2 separate regions of the Homo sapiens genome follow, and region 2 is linked to region 1. The links are contacts of gene promoters, found by promoter capture Hi-C in human tissues and cell types (Jung and others, 2019). All regions are on one chromosome and are shown on one strand. The core of a region is centred on a gene start or on the middle of the fragment in contact, and the rest is flanking DNA. Distances in the headings are between cores, read along the strand shown. Region 1 holds the start of UBXN7 (UBX domain protein 7). Region 2 overlaps MUC20 (mucin 20, cell surface associated).

Region 1 (7,763 bases), core at 1,758-4,257:
TTCAATTTTCCGTTCTATTTCTAAATGCCAAAAAAAGATAAGACTCACATTTATTTTTATTTTTTCTTTTTCTTTTTTTTGCTCCTGCCTAAAAAGTAAGGACTCACATTTTTGATGATGCATTTGTTTTTACAAGAATATTGAGCTTCCAAGTAAAACCTTTGTGAAATCAGAGCATAAGCTATTAAGGTCACTAAAATAAATATAAAATACCTTTTAATTATAAACACTACGATTAAAACGTATGTGGAGAGAACCCCAAAAAAATTTTAAGACATGTAAAAAAGGCAAAAAGAAATCAATCATGTGTTTCTAACGGTTAATCACTATCTTGTAAAAAGAATCCCAAAAATTATCAATAGAAATTCACAATATTTGAAGAACACTCAAAGGTATTTTCGCTCTGTAGATCTCCAGATACCACTGTCTACTGATTGAGGGACTCCAACTTGATCCAGCAATCAAGCTACGTAGACGAACAGAAACAGAATTAAAGCAATTAAGTGAGTCAATTCAACTCACCACACTTCGGTTTTTGTGTGTACCTAATAAAAATGTTGCAACAGAAGAAGTAATGTGGCGTTAAACCAATCAGAGTTTGGGAAGAGTAGTAATTAGCATAAGAAACTGAAAATTAATTAAGTGGCTTTTAGGGCCAGGCGCGGTGGCTCACGCCTGTAATCCTAGCACTTTGGGAGGCTGAGGTGAGTGGATCATTTGAGGACAGGAGTTCAAGACCAGCCAGGCCAACATGATGAAACCCCGCCTCTACTAAAAATACAAAAATTAGCCGGGCCTGGTGACAGGCGCTTGTAGTCCCAGCTACTCGGGAGGCTGAGACAGGAGAATCGCTTGAACCCGGGAGGTGGAGGTTGCAGTGAGCCAAGATCGTGCCTGGGAGATCTGCACTCCAACCTGGGCAACACAGCGAGACTGTCTCAAAATAATAATAATAATAATAATAATAAGTGGCTTTTTTTTTCTTTTTGAGAAATGATCTTGCTCTGTTGCCAGGGATGGAGCGCAGTGGTATGATCTACTCACCGCAGCCTTGAACTCCTAGGCTCAAGCAATCCTCCCACCTCAGCCTCCCCAGTAGCTGGGACTACATGTCGGTGCCACTACATCCAGCTCATTTTCTTATTTCTGTAGAGATGGGGCCTCACTATGTTTTGCCCAGGCTGGTCTGCAACTCCTCGCCCCATGTGAATCTCCAGCCTCCGTCTCCCAAACTGCTAGGATTACAGGCGTGAGACACCGCGCCAGGCCCAAGTGGCATCATAAACCATCTCTAGGAAATCTAAAGGATTAATAATGATATTCACTTCTCTATCAGATTCACTGCAAAGATTTTTCTATATAAGCATAATGCAGCAACACTAACTTATATACACAATAATCTTCTCCATAGCAATGATTTGTCAGACATTAGGAAATCCTTTACATATTTAATATAATAATCCAATCCTTTATATCTTCAATAATCCAATCACAAAGTTCAAAAATATTAAGAGAAGTTATCATGCAACTCCTCACCCCAATTTTATTGCAAATTTTACTTTACTTTGACCTGATGTTCCATGCCCACAAGCTAGATAACAATGCGTCAAATATCTCGTTATCATTGCAAAGCAAAAAAATAAAACTTGCTTTAATATAAAACGGTAACTAGTATACAACCTGTAGTAGTTAAAACAATATAAAATTTTACTTAACCAGATATTGCACGTTAAACTCTAGGAACATTAACAGTGGAAACATTCTCCGCATCTAACAAATTACGAGATAAAGTATAGATCCGTTGAGAGGGAACTAACATTCTGACCTCCTTCCAAAACGACAAACTAGAACGGCAAAATTACACTCAGGCACATTGGAGTACTCTTCTCTCAAATCACTCCACAGAGAACTTCATCATTTGCTCCGCCCTCTAATAACTCATGCAAGAAAAGTTCAGCACCATCAGAGAGAAACAAGACAGAGAGAATTCATAGAATGGCTTTAGGGCCTTTCCTCCAGGCGGTAAGAGGATCTGCGTGTGTCCTTCGCAGGGGTCCAAAGGGAGAGAACCTAGGCCTAGGGTTTCGGGGATACCGACACCCAGAAACAGATTTTCTCTCAAAGAAGTTTCTGCCGCCATCCCTATCTTATCAGCAGGAGGCCCCGGCGCCATCGTCTCCGTCTTTATGATTTTATTATGGGGAGGTGGGAAACGCCACCCTGGATTCTTCCAGGCCTCCCCTATTCAGCTTGGGGGTTCCCCCTCATTCTTCCCTCAAAGCCTCAGTCCCTGAGGTCCTCCTCAGCACCCCCCGCTTCTGGCGGCCTGTCCCCCGTGAAGTGTAAAGGCACGGCCGAACCCACCGGCCTTGCCGTGAAGGCGGGAGGGCCCGAACCCGCCAGGGCCACGGCGATGGCTCCGAGGGGCCCAGAAAGGGGAAGGGCAGGCCGGGGACCGGGGCAGAATGACCTGGCCGGGGAAGAAAGGAAAAAAGGAGGTGAGGAGATGCACCGCACCGCAGGGCTGCACAGAGAAGGGAAGATGATGAAGGAGGAGGAGGAGGGCGGTGGCCCGGGTGCGGCCCCCTACTCCTCCCGCCCCCGGGTCCCCGGGCCGGCGGGGGCGGACGGACTCGGCCCATTCCCAGGTCTGGGCTGGCGGGGGGTTGGGGGATCTCCCTCCACGCTACTAGGAGACAGAGAACGAGGGTATCGGGAGCGGGGGGGGGCTGTCTCCCGCCTGAACCCGGAGACCCCGACGCCGTCGTCGCCTCTTCCTCAGGAGGGAGGACGGCAGCTGTGGGTAAAGCCCGAAGGAGGAATGCCTGAAGGTAAGGGGAAGCCCGGGGCAGACCCGCTGCCCGCTCCGGACCCCACTCTCCACCTTCCGGTAACCGCGTCTCTTACCGGTAATGGTGGTGAACTGTTGAATTAACCCCTTCAGCGCCGAGGACGCCGCGGAGCCCCCGTGGGCAGCCATCTTACCGCCGCCGCCGCCGCCGAACAACAACACAGACACACACGGACTGCCCTCCCCCACTTCGCCGTGCGGTGTGCGCAGGCGCATTGACCGCCCCTCGAGCCCCGCCCCTCCCGTCCCCAGCGGTCTGCGCAGGCGCATTTTCCGACCGGGCCCGCGCGCTCCCAGCTCTCGGGTTGGCTGCTCGGTTGCTGCCTGCTCAGTGCATCCTTTTTGCCATTGCTGGTGCCTTCCTCTCCGGGCTCCAAGGCTAGCCTCGCAGGCGCGGTGTCGATTCCTAGATTCCGAAGGAAGCTTCGGTCTCGGCAGATAGTTCTTCGCATTTCAGCTTCGCAAGCTTTATTGACAGAGCCAACTGCCGATGACAGCATTTTTCTGTTTTGCGGTTGTACCGCACTCTATTAGGTTTCCTGCAGGTCCCATCAAAATGCAAACCCTACCTCCTCGCTTTGAAGCGACTCTCCCCGTACTCGCCCCCCAGCCTCTAAACTAATGGCTTAGCTAACCGATTGCGACGAGTGAAATACCAGAACCCTTCATGCCAAAGAAAGCACTTAGCGCGGGGTTGCCACCCAGTAGGTTTTCATAAACGATTGTTTAGTCTGCTTTCCTTAAATAAATTGGCCATCACGTCTCCCGTTAGGGTCTTAATGAGACCCCAAGAGGCGTCATTTGTATAAAAAGAAACTCTGTATATGCAGTAGAGGAAAGAAAACATATAGAAAGGAGACTGGAAAAGTGTGCTCAAAACGCTGGTAACGGTTACCTCCAGAGAAGAGAACGATCGGGACGATGGTCAAAGCGGACCTTACTTCGAGTTTCTTATTTATCTTTTTATTTTTAAACAAACATTATTGGCCGGGCGCGGTGGCTCATGACTGTAATCCCAGCACTTTGGAAGGCCGAGGTGGGAGAATCGCTTGAGGCAAGGAGTTCGAGACCAGACTGGGAAATATATCAAGAATCCATCTCAAAAAAAAAAAAAAAAAAAAGATATTCGTGTGTTCCTTGAATAATTTTAAGTATTTTGCAAAACAGTTACATGAGTGGGGTGCGCTCAAATCCAATAATCCCCCACCTTGCCCATAAAGTTAAAAGAGATTCCAAGTGATTCCGTTTGTTTTAGCCTCCCACCTTCCAACCTCCACCCACATATTTTGCATCTTCATAGGAAAATGGCCCAATAAAAGATGGGATGAGCTGTCTGAAGAATTGACACATCCTAAGAGTAAACATGCTATTGGGGAGAATTAAGAAAGAGCCATGTCAAATCAAGGGGTATAGTTTTTTGTTTTGTTTTGTTTGACAGGGAGTCTCGCTCTGTCGCCCAGGCTGGAGTGCAGTGGTGCAATCTCAGTTTACTGAAAGCTCCGCCTCCCGGGTTCAAGCGATTCTCCTGCCTCAGCCTCCCAAGTAGCTGGGATTACAGGCACACGCCACCACGCCTGGCTAATTTTTGTATTTTTAATAGAGACGAGGTTTCACCATGTTGAGCAGGCTAGTCTCAAACTACTGACCTCAAGTGATCCACCCGCCTCGGCCTCCCAAAGTGTTGGGATTACAGGCGTGAGCCACCACACCCAGTCGGGCTGTAGTTTCAAGAAGATATGATTGATGTAAAAGAAAGCAGACTCCAGTAATCCCAGCACTTTGGGAGGCCGAGGCGGGCGGATCGCCCGAGGTCAGGAGTTCCAGACCAGCCTGGTCAACATGGCGAAACCCCATCTCTACTAAAAATACAAAAATTAGCTGCTGTGGTGGCGCGGGCACCTGTAATCCCAGCTACTTGGGAGGCTGAGGCAGGAGAATCACTTGAACCCGGGAGGCAGAGGTTGCAGTGAGCCGAGATCATGCCACTGTGCTCCAGCCTGGGTGACAGAGCAAGACTCCGTCTCAAAAAAAAAAATGTATTTTAAGTTAAATGACAGATTGGTCCTGGCACTGCCTTCCAGGTTGCTGCAGTTCTCTAGATGGGCTGAGGAAGGGCAGGGATCAGTCATAAATTTCGGCAGCTGATTCCTTCACATTTGATGCAGAGGTGCAAAAACAGGCAAGGGAAGAAAGCCAAATCAAGAAAGTGTTACCTCTGTCTCCCTTCATCCTAAAGGCTGAGTCACTAGCCAGCCATGCAAAATCAAGCTCCACGTAAAATGGTATAACACCATTAACTACAAAAACTAAACACAGTGATTACTGTACCTCCATCAGATGGAGAGGCCAGTAATGAGCTCTGCAGGTTTATCAGGTTTATTTCCAAAATCTTATAATTCAGATTTAATGATATGATTTTGATTAACAGTGCAGGAAAAGGTGATAAAGTCTGTGGCATCCACAACTCCAGAAGGCATTTTTTTAGAAATTAAAAAATAAGATAAAAGAAAATTAGACAGGTGGCCAAAAAGATTCCATGGTCGGGGGGAGGGGGGGAAAGAAGGGAAGAAAATGAGACAGTTTCCATGGATAACCAGGGAACTGGGAAAAATAAATAAAGAAGTAATGAATAATACAACCTTGAAAAGCTTTTTTGGATTATTAAAGAATATGAAGGACTGACCAGTTGCGGTGGCTCACACCTGTAATCCCAGCACTTTGGGAGGCCGAGGCTGGGGATCACCTGAGGTCAGGAGCTCCAAACCCGCCTGACCAACATGGTGAAACACCATCTTTACTAAAAATACAAAATTAGCTGGGCGTGATGGTGCGTGCCTGTAATCCCAGCTACTCGTGTGGCTGAAGCAGGAGAATCGCTTGAGCCCGGGAGGTGAAGTTTGCAGTGAGCCAAGAATGAGCTACTGCACTCCAGCCTGGGCAACAGAGTGAGACTCCGTCTCAAAAAAAAAAAAAAAAAAAAAAAAAAAGAATATGAATATGAAGGATGGGTGTCGTGGCTCATGCCTGTAATCCCAGCACTTTGGGAGGCCAAGACAGGAGGATCACTTGAGCCCAGGAGCTTGAGACCAGCCTAGGCAACATAGGGAGACCCTATCTCTGAAAAAAGAAAAAAAAAGTTTAATTAGCCAGGTGCGGTGGTGCAAGCTTGTAGTCCCACCTACTCTGGAGGCTGAGGCGGGAGGATCACTTGGGCCCAGGTGGTCGAGGCTGCAGTGAGCCATGATGACACCACTGCACTCCAGCCTGGGTAAGATATGTGGAAATCACAAGGAACAGTGGAGGATCTCATACTAGTAACAGTAGAACTGTCACAACCCATACGTCCAAAGAGATGAGAACAGAGAGAAGTTAGAGAAATCCCAAGTGAGATTTTTTTGCAGAGCAAACCACCATGCAAGAAGCAATGACCTTCTGTCAAGGGACATAAATAAGCAGCTTGAGGCAATCTCAGAGAGGAGCTCAGGGACATAGATACCCTGACCTCGATCTCCTCTTCTGTCTCCTGCCAGGAATCCCCAATGGCTGAACCCAAATGGAAGACAGAGGGCACAGCAAGAAGCCCCTTGTAGTTCCCACAGGCAGCCCCGGGGCAGAGAGCAGGATGGAAAAGAGGAAATTGATGGACACAAATGTAAAATGGAATGGTCATGGAAATACATTCCAAAACTTGAGGAGCTTTTTGGTTTGTTTGGGTCTTTTTTGTTTCATCTTGTTTTGTTTTTTGAGACAGGGTCTCTCTCTGTCGCCCAGGCTGGAGTGCAGTGGCAGGATCTTGGCTCACTGCAGCCTCTGCCTCCTGGGTTCAAGCGATTCTCCTGCCTCAGCCTCCCAAGTAGCTGGGATTACAGGAGCAGGCCACCATGCCCAGCTAATTTTTGTATTTTTAGTAGAGACAAGGTTTCACCATGTTGGTCAGGCTGGTCTTGAACTCCTGACATCAAGTGATCCACCTGTCTCAGCCTCCCAAAGTGCTGGGATTACAGGGTGAGCCACAGAGCCTGGCCCGAAACTGATGGAGTTTTAACAGAAGCTAAAGGAGAATATATAAGCTTAACTGGTTATATTAGAGAAGAAGACTGGAAAATAAGTAGCTCAGCATTTCATCAAGAAGTTAATAAAGGAACAACAACTCAGCAGACAAGGAAAAATGTGAAGAAAAAATGCTAAAGAGCAGAAATTGACAAAATAGAATACAAAATACAGAAGAGAGGATTCATAAAACCAAAAGCTGGTTCTCTGAAATAACAATATGTAAAACCTTTGACAGGCCAGGTGTGGTGGCTCACACCTGTAGGCCCAGCACTTTGGGAGGCCGAGGTGGGTGGATCACCTGAGGTCAGGAGTTCCAGACCAGCCTGGCCAACATGGTGAAACCCCGTCTCTACTAAAAATACAAAAATTAGCTGGACGTGGTGGCGGGCGCCTGTAATCCCAGCTACTTGGGAGGCTGAGACAGTAGAATCACTTGAACCCAGGAGACAGAGGTTGCAGTGAGCCGAGATTGTGCCATTGCACTCCCGCCTGGGTGACAGAGTGAGACTCCATCTCAAAAAATAAAAAAATAAATAATAATAAAACCTTTGACAGATTAAGAACAAAGAGAAAGACACAAACAATATTATGAAAAAAAGACATAGCAGACATAGCCGTGGCTTGAAAAATAAGAGAATATTATGAATAATTTTATGCTGATGAATTAGGAAATAGATAAATGACAGTTTCCTAGAAGAAATAATTAACAAAATGGAACTCAACTATGCATAGACTTATGACCATTAACAAAATGAAATCTGCCACACAAATGACCACACCCCAGTGATTTTACAGGAGATTGCTACCAAAAAAGTTAAGAAACAGATTATCCCAAACTTATACAAATGCTTCCAGATAA
Region 2 (7,763 bases), core at 1,000-3,499, 700 kb before region 1:
GGTGGGCGCCTGTAATCCCAGCTACTTGGGAGACTGAGGCAGGAGAATCACTTGAACCCGGGAGGTGGAGGTTACAGTGAGCTGAGACGGAGTGAAACTCCGTCTCAAAAAAAAAAGGTAAGATAAAATAAGCAAATACAGCGAAGGCTTGGGAGTTTAAAGCTACATCTCTGAGGCAACAGGGACTTCTCAGGGGAGAAGTTCATTGTCAGAGGCTGCTTGGTCAGTCCAGCTTCTGGTCAGCCTGTAGCCTCCACCTCCACTTCCTGTCACTCTGCCCTTGGGCCTCATCTCTGTGTATCCGCAGCTTGTTACCACCTTTCTGGGGGAGGTGGGAATACAAATATTAATCACAACCACTCAATACATAAAGATATTATTGAATATCTTTCATGTTATAGGCAGGGGTGATATAAACATGTTTCACACCCAGTAAGCACTGGCCCCAGCAGAACGTTCTCTCCGGTGCCAGGCAGTGTGCCACCAGCTTTGCATATGTTATCTGATGCCAGGCAGTGTGCCACCGGCTTTGTATATGTTATCTGATGCCAGGCAGTGTGCCACCGGCTTTGCATATGTTATCTGATGCCAGGCAGTGTACCACCAGCTTTGCATATGTTATCTGATGCCAGGCAGTGTACCACCGGCTTTGCATATGTTATCTGATGCCAGGCAGTGTGCCACCAGCTTTGCATATGTTATGATGCCAGGCAGTGTGCCACCAGCTTTGCATATGTTATCTCCTCTATTTAACCTTCAAAACAGCCTTAGGAGGTGGGTAACACGACCCCATCTGACAGGGTTAAAGATGGTAGCTAAACTGCTCTGGAAAGTGAAGGGGTGGCCTGCCCCTCCACACCTGTGGGTATTTCTAGTCGGGTGGGATGAGAGACTGAGAAAAGAAATAAGGCACAGAGACAAAGTATAGAGAAACAACAGTGGGCCCAGGGGACCGTCGCTCAGCATACCAAGGACCTGCACCGGCACCAGTCTCTGAGTTTTCTCAGTTTTTATTGATTATTATTTTCATTATTTTAGCAAAAAGGAATGTAGTAGGAGAGCAGGGTGATAATAAGGAGAAGGTCAGCAAGAAACATGTGAGCAAAAGAATCTGTGTCATAATTAAGTTCAAGGGAAGATACTATGCCTGGATGTGCACGTAGGCCAGATTTATGTTTCTCTCCACCCAAACATCTCAGCAGAGTAAAGAATAATAAAGCAGCATTGCTGCAAACATGTCTCACCTCCCGCCACAGGGTGGTTTTTCTCCTGTCTCAGAATTGAACAAATGTACAATCGGGTTTTATACTGAGACATTCAGTTCCCAGGGGCAGGCAGGAGACAGTGGCCTTCCTCTATCTCAACTGCAAGAGGAGATCCTCTTTTACTAATCCACCTCAGCACAGACCCTTTACGGGTGTCAGCCTGGGGGACGGTCAGGTCTTTGTCATCCCACAAGGCCATATTTCAGACTATACATGGGGAGAAAGCTTGGACAATAACCTGCTTTCAAGGGCAGAGGTCCCTGCGGCTTTCCACAGTGCATTGTGCCCCTGGTTTATTGAGACTAGAGAATGGCGATGACTTCTACCAAGTATACTGCTTGTAAACATTTTGTTAACAAGGCACGTCCTGCACAGCCCTAGATCCCTTAAACCTTGATTTTATACAACACATGTTTTTATGAGCTCAAGGTTGGGGCAAAGTTACAAATTAACAACATCTCAGCAAAGCTTGTTTAAAGTACAGGTCTTTTTCAAAATGGAGTCTCATGTCTTTCCTTTCTACAGAGACACAGTGACAGTCTGATCGCTCCTTCTTTTCCCTGGAAAGAAAAATACTTTATTATTTGTTGATTAGATAAGACATTCATATGATTTGAAATGGAAAGGTACGAAAAGGTTCACCATAAAATGCCTTTCTCCCCTGGCTGTGCCCCCACCCAGTTCTCTCCACACATGTAACCCGTGAGATTGTCTCTTGTGTGTAATTTTCTGCACATGAAATGTACATACGGAAGCAAATATATGTGACTATTTCATCCTCCTCTTTTTTTTTTTTTTTTTTTTTGAGACAGTTTCGCTCTTGTTGCCCAGGTTGGAGTGTAGTGCTGCGATCTCAGATCACCACAACCTCCGCCTCCCAGGTTCAGGCGATTCTCCTGCCTCAGCCTCCTGAGTAGCTGGGATTACAGGCACGCACCACCATGCCCGGCTCATTTTGTGTTTTTAGTAAAGACGGGATTTCTCCATGTTGGTCAGGCTGGTCTCAAACTCCCGATCTCAGGTGATCCACCTGCCTCTGCCTCCCAAAGTGCTGGGATGACAGGTGTGAGCCACTGCGCCCAGCCCTGATTTTCATCTTACTGTTCTCCATTTGCAGGTGAAAATGGAGGTTTCCTCCTCCTGCGGCTGAGTGTGGCTTCCCCGGAAGACCTCACTGACCCCAGAGTGGCAGAAAGGCTGATGCAGCAGGTGAGTGGGCACTTTCCGGGCCAGGGGAGTAGAGGAAGGGGCGAGGTTCGCAGGGGCTGCAGGGAAGACCCGCAGGACACAGAAGAGCAGCTACCGCGCTTGGAAGGGAGTCTCGTTTCTTACGGAGAATTGGGAGCTGAATCTGAGGATCTCTGCCTGGCTTTGCTTCTGCCTGCCTTCTCCGAGTTCTTCATTTCCTTCTCTGCAATGTAAACATGTGACTCCTAGAGCCCCCAGTTTCTTCTGGTCCTTGGAAGCTTGGCCTTCTGGCCTCTGAGGCAAAGGTCAGTGATACTGATGGGAGGGTAGGTCGGACTCTTGGTTGCAAGTGGCAGAAACCCAAGTCAGGGCAGTTTATGCAAAAAAAAAAAAAAAAAAAAAAAGGCAAGGTCTGAGAAACCTACAAGTGTCTCTTCAGCTTCAGTACGGCTGGATCCAGCAGCTCCAGCGCCATCACAGGGACTTTCTCTTTCTTTCCCTGTCTTAGCTTTACTCCCTTCATTCTTCAGAGTCTTTCTTCATGTGTATGAAAAGGCAGCCTTGTTAGCCATAGATTCACAAGGGACTTCCATCTCCCCACATTTTCTTTTCTTTTTTCTTTTTCTTTCTTTCTTTTTGTTTTTTGAGACGAAGTCTCGCTCTGTCGCCCAGGCTGGAGTGCAGTGGTGCGATCTCAGCTCACTGCAAGCTCCGCCTCCTGGGTTCACGCCATTCTCCTGCCTCAGCCTCCCAAGTAGCTGGGACTACAGGCGCCCGCCACCACGCCCAACTAATTTTTATGTTTTTTTTTTTAGTAGAGACGGGGTTTCACCGTGTTAGCCAGAATAGTCTCAATCTCCTGACCTCGTGATCCACCCGTCTTGGCCTCCCAAAGTGCTGGGATTACAGACATGAGCCACCGCACCCGGCCCCCTCTCCCCAAATTTTCATGTCATCTGGGGAAGTGCAGGTCTCCATGGCCTGCAAGGGTCACCATGACTGACAACCCAGTCAGGATCCCATAGAGGAAGGATGAGCCCCAAGAAAATAGGGAGGCTAGGCAGAAAAAACCGCAGAGATGTATACTCTAGATGAGGACCATGATTGGGATGTATTTGTACAAGTTGGGAAAATTCTCCTAAAACCCACTGGATAGAACTTCCAATGGTAAAGTTCCGGGGTCAGGGTTTTGAGGATGGGGATGGTGTGGCTTGTTGGAGGTTAGACTGGGTCAGCTCAGTGCAGATGTCACGGGCCTGGCCTCACTGAGGGGTGGGTTGTTCTCCTAATGTGTGGTACAAAGTAGCAGATGGGGCATGATGGGAAGTGTCTAAGCTCTGCTCACAGATGTAACCGTGAAAACAGGCCCAGTGCACAGTCTAATGTGGATTGCCTCTTTGACAGTGCCCTTGCTAATACCTGAAGCTTGCATTCAGCACCTCTCACAGTCAATGGGACAGTGCCCTTGCTAATACCTGAAGCTTGCATTCAGCACCTCTCACAGTCAATGGGTGCCACACTGCTGAAAAGTGGCTCAGGCTTCCTGTCATCCCTTGCAAGGGTAAACCTGGCAGAGATGCTGGCTGGGGGTCTTATGCCAGGTGTAGAGTTCATAGCCAGGCTGGACAGGTGGAATGATTGCCCTTAGCAGAGGGAAGCAAGATATGTCCGTGGAGAGTGGGATCCTTTGTTGCAGGCGAAAGAAAACCTCTGTCTGTCGTAAGTAAAAGGGGGATTTGTTGGCAGCGTCCCAGAGTGCATAGAATCAAAGCAATGCCAGGACAGCAGGCTTGGAAAATAGGCAGGAGGGCCCCCAGGAGCTCTGAGGTCCAGACAGTGGGATCAGGCTGGCTGGGACACTGTCCCTCTTGCTGGTCAGTCACTATTGGATGCTGCCACAGCCAAGGGGCATCACGTGGCCTGCACACACATTCACATAGGTTCTCGCTGCCTTTTTGTCTCACTGGACTTTTTGCTCCAGAGCCAAAGTCCTGAGTAGGAACATTTGATAGGCTGAGCTTAGCCCTTGTACTCCCATGAGCCCACAGCCAGGTGCCAGGGGACGGGAAGAAGGGATGTCTGTGTCCTTGGAGTTCTCTTAGCAGCAGTGAGGCCAATCGTGACTCCCACTGTGAGGAGTTCCCTAAACATGGCACGGGGGCTCGACACCCGATGGCCAAATAAGTGACAAATGCCCCCGGCATGTGATAATCAAAGTAGCGAGTGTGAATCCTTGTGGGAGAGGGAAGCCAATTGCTTTTGTTTTGTTTTGTTTTGTTTTGTTTTGTTTTGTTTTGTTTTCTGAGACTGAGTCTCACTCTGTCATCCAAGCTGGAGTGCAGTGGTGCGATCTTGGCTCACCACAACCTCCGCCTCCCAGGTTCAAGCCATTCTCCTGCCTCAACCTTCTGAGTAGCTGGGATTACAGGCCCGCACCACCATACCTGGCTAATTTTTGTATTTTTAGTAGAGATGGAGTTTCAGGTTTCAGCATCTTGGCCAGGCTAGTCTTGAACTCTTGACCTCATGATCCACCCACCTCAGCCTCCCAAAGTGCTGGGATTACAGGCGTTGAGTCATTGCGTCCGGCTGGGAAGCCAGTTTTCTTTTTCTTTTTCTTTTTCTTTCTCTTTTTCTTTTCTTTTCTTTTATTTTTCTTGAGACAGATTCTCGCTCTGTCGTCCAGGCTGGAGTGCAATGGCACGATCTCGGCTCACTGCAACCTCCACCTCCCGGATTCAAGCAATTCTCCTGCCTCAACCTCCCTAGTAGCTGGGATTACAGGTGCACACTACCACTCCTGGCTAATTTTTGTATTTTTAGTAGAGATGGGGTTTCTCCATGTTGGTCAGGCTGGTCTCGAACTCCTGACCTCAGGTGACCCACCTGCCTCTGCTTCCCAAAGCACTGGGATTATTGGCGTGAGCCACCGCACCCGGCCGGGAAGCCAGTTTTGAATCTCAGGTCTAAGCCCCCAAACCAGAAATGATTTCAGGAATCGGAAAGAAACCGCGAGATCAGGAGCAGGTCAAGCAGCTGAGGCGCAGGCACCAGGCCACATGGGGTTGGGCATCAGTTCTCGTCCGGGGACAGCCCAACAGTTTGGGCTCGGGGATTAGACAATGAGCTTAGGAACCAGCTAGATCTGGGTGTGAATTCTAGTTCCCAACTGTGTGATCTTGGATAAGTTATTCTATGCGACTTTCATCCCTTATAAAATGAGGATCCTAACACCTGCTTTATAAGGTTGCTGTGAGGTTTAGATGACATAATGTGTGTGAGGCACCAGCCTGTGTCCAGCATGTAGGAGGCCCAGGAAGGGTTGCCGTCCTCCGCATGCACTCTGCCCCAGTGTCCCTTCCTGTCCTCTGCCTCTGGCGAGCTCATGGGCCAGATGGGCTGAAAGGACAGCTGGCTCTTTTGCTCTCCAGCTCCACCGGGAACTCCACGCCCACGCGCCTCACTTCCAGGTCTCCTTACTGCGTGTCAGGAGAGGCTAACGGACATCAGCTGCAGCCAGGCATGTCCCGTATGCCAAAAGAGGGTGCTGCCCCTAGCCTGGGCCCCCACCGACAGACTGCAGCTGCGTTACTGTGCTGAGAGGTACCCAGAAGGTTCCCATGAAGGGCAGCATGTCCAAGCCCCTGACCCCAGATGTGGCAACAGGACCCTCGCTCACATCCACCGGAGTGTATGTGTGGGGAGGGGCTTCACCTGTTCCCAGAGGTGTCCTTGGACTCACCTTGGCACATGTTCTGTGTTTCAGTAAAGAGAGACCTGATCACCCATCTGTGTGCTTCCATCCTGCATTAAAATTCACTCAGTGTGGCCCAGAGGCTGTCTATTGATCTGCATGCTTTCGCCATTTTTATAGTACAGGGATTGTGTATAGTCTCACTGCTACCTCCTCCTTCTACTCCCCCAGGTCTTGGTTTGGACTTTGATGATAGCATTTACTGAGACGGGCCTGGAGCCTGTCGAACAGCCCGCTGCAGCAGGGCAGGGACCACCTTTGTTCATCTCAGTATCCCCTGAACTAGCAGAGTGTCTGGCCTGCAGTGGGATCGCAGAGAATGTGGAATTGACCTAAATTTAAATTTCAAGTTCTGGACACAAGCCTCAATTATTCCTCTTATATGTTATAACTTACATGCTATTATTTTTTTAAAAAATTAATATGGTTTACTTTTTATTATAAAAGTAAAACTTGGCCAGGCTCAGTGGCTCACGCCTGTAATCCCAGCACTTTGGGAGGCCGAGGCCGGTGGATCACGAGGTCAGGAGTTTGAGACTAGCCTGGCCAACATGGTGAAACCCCGTCTCTACTAAAAACACGAAAATTAGCTGGGTGTGGTGGCAGGTGCCTGTAATCCCAGCTACCCAGGAGGCTGAGACGGGAGAATCACTTGAACCCGGGAGGCAGAGGTTGCAGTGACCCAAGATCCTACCACTGCACCCCAGCCTGGGCAAAAGGGCAAGACTCTGTCTCATAAATAAATAAATTTAAAATAAAAGTAAAACTTGTTTATGATTTCAAAATTTTGAAATATTCCAAAGACCAAGCAAAGTAAGAAGTGGGAAGAGGAGAAAGAAAAACTTTTCTATAATCCCACCTCTTAGATACAACGATTTATTTTTTAAAATTGAGACAGGGTCTCACTCTCACCCAAACTGCAGTGCAGTGGTGCGACCATGGCTCACTGCAGCCTCCACCTCCCAGCTCCAGTGATCCTCCCACCTCAGCCTCCTGAGGAGCTGGGACCACAGCTGGCTAATTTTTGTACTTTGTTTTGTAAAAAAGGGGCTTTACCATGTTGAGCAGGTTGGTCTCGATCTTCTGAGCTCAAGCAGTCCTCCTGCCTCAGACTCGCAAAGTGCTGGGATTACAGACATGAGCCACTGTGCCCAGCCTTATATACAGCTATTATTATTAATGTATACTGTGTATTCATTTCAATTCTTAATCTCTCCACTTGGATGTTGATGAAATACATACCTCACATTCAACATTTCTTTCTTTTTTTTTTTCTTTTTGAGATGGAAAGGAGCCTGGCTCTGTCACCCAGGCTGGAGTGCAGTGGCGTGATCTCAGCTCACTGCAAGCTCCACCTCTTGGGTTCACGTGATTCTCCTGCCTCAGCCTCCTGAGTATCTGGGACTACAGGTGCCACCACCATGCTCGGCTAATTTTTTGAATTTTTAGTAGAGACGGAGTTTCACCGTGTCAGCCAGCCTGGTCTCAAACTCCTGACCTCAAGTGATCCACCCACCTCGGCCTCCCAAAGTGCTGGGATTCCAGTTAATGAGCAC

What was found. Contacts are between HindIII fragments. The study calls those that stand out against the background at their distance.
Region 2: a contact is called between a fragment that was not itself captured here and the fragment with the promoter of UBXN7 in region 1, in 1 of the 25 tissues and cell types used here (pancreas).

The regions. Positions count from the first base shown.
Region 1 is chr3:196,429,420-196,437,182 of GRCh38, forward strand. UBXN7 (UBX domain protein 7) reads right to left here and starts at 3,008. Exons shown (of 11, transcript NM_015562.2): 1 at 2,908-3,008. The coding sequence starts at 2,980. UBXN7-AS1 (UBXN7 antisense RNA 1) reads left to right here and starts at 1,966. Exons shown (of 2, transcript NR_046745.1): 1 at 1,966-2,022; 2 at 2,783-3,615. RefSeq lists enhancers at 1,765-2,539, 2,116-2,165, 2,540-3,313, 3,246-3,325 and silencers at 2,876-2,935, 2,956-3,205. The HindIII fragment of the contact is 10,299 bases long and covers 1-4,408 here.
Region 2 is chr3:195,727,266-195,735,028 of GRCh38, forward strand. It overlaps MUC20 (mucin 20, cell surface associated), which reads left to right. Exons shown (of 4, transcript NM_001282506.2): 3 at 2,383-2,474; 4 at 5,885-6,286. The coding sequence ends at 5,953. Among named protein-coding and RNA genes, the nearest start is that of MUC20, 10 kb to the left of the region's middle. The HindIII fragment of the contact is 3,313 bases long and covers 594-3,906 here.